Linked DNA regions of Homo sapiens: region 2 is linked to region 1. The links are contacts of gene promoters, found by promoter capture Hi-C in blood cells and fetal thymus (Javierre and others, 2016). All regions are on one chromosome and are shown on one strand. Each heading gives the region's core, a stretch centred on a gene start or on the middle of the fragment in contact. The rest is flanking DNA. Distances are from core to core; before and after follow the strand shown.

What was found. Contacts are between HindIII fragments. The CHiCAGO score rates a contact against its expected background, and 5 or more counts as called.
Region 2: a fragment that was not itself captured here is called in contact with the fragment with the promoter of AASDH in region 1 in 2 of 17 cell types (non-activated CD4 T cells and total CD8 T cells); the score reaches 7.4 in non-activated CD4 T cells.

What each region holds. Positions count from the first base shown.
Region 1 is chr4:56,385,815-56,388,841 of GRCh38, forward strand. AASDH (aminoadipate-semialdehyde dehydrogenase) reads right to left here and starts at 1,677. Exons shown (of 15, transcript NM_181806.4): 1 at 1,548-1,677. RefSeq lists enhancers at 1,095-1,602, 1,572-1,941, 1,603-2,109, 1,972-2,021. The HindIII fragment of the contact is 3,410 bases long and covers 387-3,027 here.
Region 2 is chr4:51,838,224-51,841,239 of GRCh38, forward strand. It overlaps a transcript of DCUN1D4 not described here. Among named protein-coding and RNA genes, the nearest start is that of DCUN1D4, 3.4 kb to the right of the region's middle. The HindIII fragment of the contact is 1,059 bases long and covers 1,140-2,198 here.

The DNA.
Region 1 (3,027 bases), core at 427-2,926:
GGCCAGGTTGGTTTTGAACTCCTGACCTAAGTGATCCACCTACCTTGGCCTCCCAAAATGTTAGGATTACAGGCGGAGCCACCGCGCCCGGCCGAGTCAAGTTTTCTTTTCTTTCTTTTTTTTTTTTTAATTTATTCACACCTATTTGAATTGATTTCCTGACTCAAAATTTTCATTTATATCAACTAATTAACATCAATTAGGAAAAAGAAATCCTAAAGAGAGTAAAATGAACCAATAACTGCCAAGACCCATAAGTTTGAAAATGCTGTGATTTCTAAATATACAGTTTAAACATATAAGGCAACTTTAGTACTTACATTATTTATTTTTAGTAGGCATTTCTATAAATATTAGCTCTTTTTAATGCACAAGATACAATTTTAAGCTTTCCTCAGACATACAATGATCATTATGTAAATATAAGGGAGGCTTTCTGCAGCAGGCGCTTAAATTATGAGGAATGAGTTCATTTCGCAACATACAGGTAGCGCAGAAGGGTACCTACACATCTATACGATAATTAAGATGTTTCTTTCCATTTTCCCAATGGTTGCTACAGACATTTAAGGTAAAATCCATTCTTCTTGTCTCAGGTTTTCATTTTCATTCATTGAATCACAAATAACATTCTCTGCAGTAGAGAATACTAAACTTATTAATGCCCAAATGTTTGAGACCTTAAAAAGGAAAAAAAGGCCGGGCGCGGTGGCTCACGCCTGTAATCCCAGCACTTTGGGAGGCCGAGGCGGGTGGATCATGAGGTCAGGAGATCGAGACCATCCTGGCTAACAAGGTGAAACCCCGTCTCTACTAAAAATACAAAAAATTAGCCGGGCGCGGTGGCGGGCGCCTGTAGTCCCAGCTACTCGGGAGGCTGAGGCAGGAGAATGGCGTCAACCCGGGAAGCGGAGCTTGCAGTGAGCCGAGATTGCGCCACTGCAGTCCGCAGTCCGGCCTGGGCGACAGAGCGAGACTCCGTCTCAAAAAAAAAAAAAAAAAAAAAAAGGAAAAAAAAAAGCAAACTCTGGTAAGCAGATTTTACATGTAAAAGGAATAAATTTACTTGCTACAACTGTAGAAGCTGCTATTTAGTCAACAAAGATCTTAAGAGTGTCAGCAAATTCAATTGCTATGGGGCCTCTCTCTAGGCCACTGGCTGTTTTAAAAATGGATAAATAATCTAGAAACTTTATTTTCCCAATTCCCCGGCTTCTAAATTTACGGTATGCAACGAGTAACAATGCAATTTACAGCTTCCTAAACATTTCTTCATTGCTCTTCGAAACCACTCTAGGGGGTAGCTGAGCGCGGAGCACACTTATTTCCATTTGAATGGAGGGGCGGAGGCTAGTGACGCAGGAGTGTACACACAGGTCAGGGTTAGTCTGCACCACACCAGCACGCCAGACCCCGATGTATCAAATCCGAGGTCAGGCAGTGGTCCTGAAGCTGAGCAAATGTATGTGGAAGCAGGCTCAGGCCTAGCGGCACTTCGCCTCCTTCACACAGACCCCCGCCGGACACCGCGCCCTGCCGCGACTCACTTAGCAAGTCTCGCGGATTAGGTTTGATCGCATTCGGCCCTTTCCCGGATAGCTCGTCGCGGATACTTCTCACAGCGAAGCAGCAGCTCCCAGAAGCCGTAAAGCTATCCCAGAGCGAGGCACCATACGTAAATCTTCCGCGTCGCTACGTGACGTCAGTGCGAGCGACCCCGGGCCGGCTGCGTGGAGCTGGCGCTGCCTCTCCTGAAGCCGAGGCGCTAACTTGAGTGAAGAGGTCTATAGGCTTTTTCACTTTTGGTTATCTGCTCAGGCGCTCCTTGGGGTCGCGCATGGTCTCGGACAGGGTTTGCAAGGACTTCGGAGCTAACCAGTTTGGAGCCATAACCCTTTCGTACTTGCCAAAAAACTCTGGGCAAGACTCTTGAATTTTGAGCCGCAGTATTCTCGTTCATAAGGTGAGAATAAAAACATCACCTAGGGTTGATGTGAAGAGAGATGAAATCATTGTGAAATAGGAGAGTTATTGCTTTCAACCAATGACATTTTCTGGAAACGTGCTGGAGATATGGCTGCAGCAGTGACGCCTGCAAACGACGTTCCTGTCATCATGATGCTGACATTTTAATTGGGAAGCAGATTGAAACGATAACTAAGGAATTTGACAGGAGCATTTAGTAGGACCTGTAAAGAAATTAAAGCAGGTCCGAGGTGGAGTTTTGTAAACTATATGCCTGAATAGAACTTTCTGTTTCCAAGGGAATTGTTACAGTTGGAGACATGTCAATTATTACAATAAGCGTCAAGGGCAATAACAGAGGTGTTTTAAAGCTACTGTCTGGTGGCAGAATAATCGGGATTTTTTTGTTTGGGGGGTTTTAGCCGGGGGAGGGACTGCGAAGACAGCTCTGCATCAAAACAGTACGTGAGAAAAAAGCATAGGACGCTCTCGCAGCCGTAGTTGTTGGTGACAAGAAACTGTGCTTCTAATCTAAGCAAAAAATATCTCCACATGCCAACTATACTTTTCCAAGATGTACCATGGACTACTCAAACTAACACAGCCTTATTTATGTATTTAGGTTGGAAGTGGGCAAAAGTGTATCTTGTCTATGTTTCTATGTTTCTACGTTGGGATGACACCATCATCCACCCAGCCAGACAGTTATCAACCTTCCCACTTTCTTAACCTCTTACATCCGATTAGACCCTATGTCCTCTAGTTCTCAGTCTTGAGACCAGCACCCAGCTGGCTACATCAGAATTGCCGGTGGTGATGTTTTAGAAGATTCCAAATTCCTGGACTCCATCCCCGGAGGTTCATCCCCTAGTTTTCTAGTGAGGGGCCTAGAACCTGCGTTTTTTAAGTGTCATGTTCATCGCCATTACTGCTACTTTAGTTCAGGTCTTCTTGGTCAGCTTTTTCCTAAAACGTTTTCAGTTTTGTTTGCCTCTGATTGACTCTGAATTGCTGCCAAAATGATGTTTTATTATTCCAGTATCATCATCCAACTCTCTGATA
Region 2 (3,016 bases), core at 419-2,918, 4.5 Mb before region 1:
TCATTTGCTGTGGGGATAAGGTCAAAAGGGTAAAATAAATAAGAATTTAGTAACCTGGATGTAATCCTTCTGACCCATACTTTTCATTATATAGATCTATAAAAGGAGCCTGAGTGGCTAGATGTTCATCCCTAAAAAGAGGCCTGGTTTCACTTTATTTATTTATTTATTTATTTGAGGCAGGGTCTCATTCTGTCACCAAGGCTGGAGTGCAGTGGCGTGATCTCAGCTCACTGCAGCCTCCACCCATAGGGCTCAAGGGATCCTCCCACCTCAGCCACCTGAGTAGCTAGGATTACAGGCAGCTGCCACCACACCCAGATAATTTTGCATTTTTTTGTAGAGATAGGGTCTCCCTGTGTTGGCCCAGACTGGTATCAAACTCTTGGGCTCAAGTGATCCACCCACCTCAGCCTCCGAAAGTGCTGGGGTTTCAGGCATGAGCCACCATGCCCAGCCTGATTTCACTATCTTTTGAGAGCATGTTAACAACCATATTATTGTATCCTTATAAATAATCTCTGAGGTATATAGGGGCATATATTAACCTGATTAAAAAGAGAAGGAACTGGCCAGGTGCGGTGGCTCATGCCTGTAATCTCAGCACTTTGGGAACTGAGGCGGGCAGATCACCTGAGGTCAGGAGTTTGAGACCATCCTGGCCAACATGGCAAAACCCCGTCTCTACTAAAAACACAACAATTAGTCGGGTGTGGTGGCGTGTGCCTGTAATCCCAGCTACTTGAGAGGCTGAGGCAGGAGAATCACTTGAACCCAGGAGGCAGAGGTTGCCGTGAATGGAGATCCCACCACTGCACTCCAGCCTGGGCGACAGAGTGAGACTCCGTCTCAAAAGAGACAGAGAGAGAGAGAGAAAAGGAAGGAAGAAGGGAAGGAGAGAAGGAGGGAATGAGGGAGGGAAGGAAGGAAGGAAGGAAGGAGAAGGAAGGAAGGAAGAAAGGAGAAGGAAGGAAGGAAGGAAGGAAGGAGGGAAGGAAAGAAAGAAAGAAAGAAAAGAAGGAAAGGAAGAAAGAAAGAAAGAAACTAAAGCCCAACACAGGAATATTAAAAACATGGAGTCTGGCTACTTAGGGGCACGTTTACTTATTAGCTGGGTGGCAAGTTACCGAAGCTCTTGAAGCTTCAGTTAACTTACCTGTAGATTGGGGATACTATTAGTTATTAGTACTCCACTGTGTTGTTGTGAAGTTAAGTAGATTAGTTTACCAGTACAGTACTATTAGAGTAGTGCCCGTCACATAGGAAGCATTAAGAAAGAAGTTGTTATCACTTGGGACAGCAAATTCAGTTGGTCATATTTGGAGAAAGAAAACTATCCTGCCCTCTATGGATAAATTCTCCTTTCGGAGGGGGTTTATTTTCATTTCCAAATACTAGAAACCCACCTAGCCTGACATTTTATTACTAAAGGAGTTCTGCCAACTCTCTCACTGTAATCTAAGGCCAAATTAATTCCTCTCTGTCCTGTGTTCTTTCTTATTCTCTTTAAATCTTACCAGGGACACATTTATCTGTCTGTGCAGGCCCAACTTATTTTCAGTCTCAAGAACTATGCTATTCTTCCTCCTACTCCCAATCCCAACACATGCAGGAAAAGCATGCTACAGTGGGCTTAGCAGAATTTAGGGGAAAGCGTAACATTTGATTGAAGAGCTCTGCTGTTTTTTTTCTCTTACTAGACTTCTCCATATCACATTCTAATCTAGGCTTAGGGCATTTCAAAATATATCTGATTAAAATTAATATTGTATGACTAATAAAATAGAAAAATTCCAATTAAATTAGGTATCATTAACATGGAGTAACTTGCTTCAATATTACCTTAAAGCAGTAACTGGGTGAAATGAAATGGCATAAAGACTGCATCTCCAAATATCTCTACCCATCACAGTCCCAAGATATTCAATTATTAATTTTTTTCTCCAGGGATTCAAATATAAATGTACAGAAGTATAACATTATTATCTCAGTAAACCTCTCCATGGGGATCATGTTCTTTGGGAATACTACAAATGAGAAAAAAAAAAGTGAAGTATTGATTTACATATTGAAAAAAATCCTGAATGAAATACATAAAAAAGAAGGCAACATTTCAACCATGAAGCAGACTTGTATTAGATTGGCATAGTAACTTTCAGATGGGAAGGGAGAGTAGTTTACCTATCTTTGGAATTTGAAGCTTTGATATTAGACAGTGTGGTACAGGGGATAGAGTTGAGAAACCTGAATTTAAGCCCTGTTTTGTTATCAACTAGCCAAGTGACTCAGATTAAACATTTAACTCCTTTGGATGTCAAGTCTCTTATTTTTAAAATGAAGATGTTGGATTTGATAATCACCAAGGTTCCTATCCAGATCTAAAATTTCATGTACGGTAAACATTCATTTTAAGGGGTATGGTTAACCAGTGCCTACCACAATATTTGAAAGCATTGTACTAGGTGCTAGGCAAGTAAAAAGATAACTATAACAAGTTTCCTGATATCAGAGGTTTATATGGTGTGGATTATTTAAATGACCAGGTAATATTTGCAGAGCATTATGTAGTCATTTTATTATACTTTGTAAAACGTGGGGGCAGTGAGGGTCAGCCGACTAGGAATGAGCTTTGCCTCTCAATCCTTAGGCTATAGCTGACTCTTTATAAAGATCTGGGTAAATTACCTCTAAGTCTGTTTTCTACTTGAAAATAATCATACTGACTCAACTGAAAGCAATGTTGAGAAATAACAGAGGTTGTACATTCTATAAATTTTTATGGACACCATGCATATGCCAGGCCAGTGTTGGGAGCTGGGGCAAAGCAGCCGACCCATCCTTCATCTAGCTTAACTCTTATACACATTATTATAAAGTATGCTGCAAATAAATTAATAGAGCAAATGACTAGCTATAATTAATTGTGGGCTTATTGTAATTTAGAGGTGTCACGAAGGAAGCCCTTTTCTGTGCAAAATAACATGTGTCTCAGTCTTTGAAGTACCATGGTAAACGG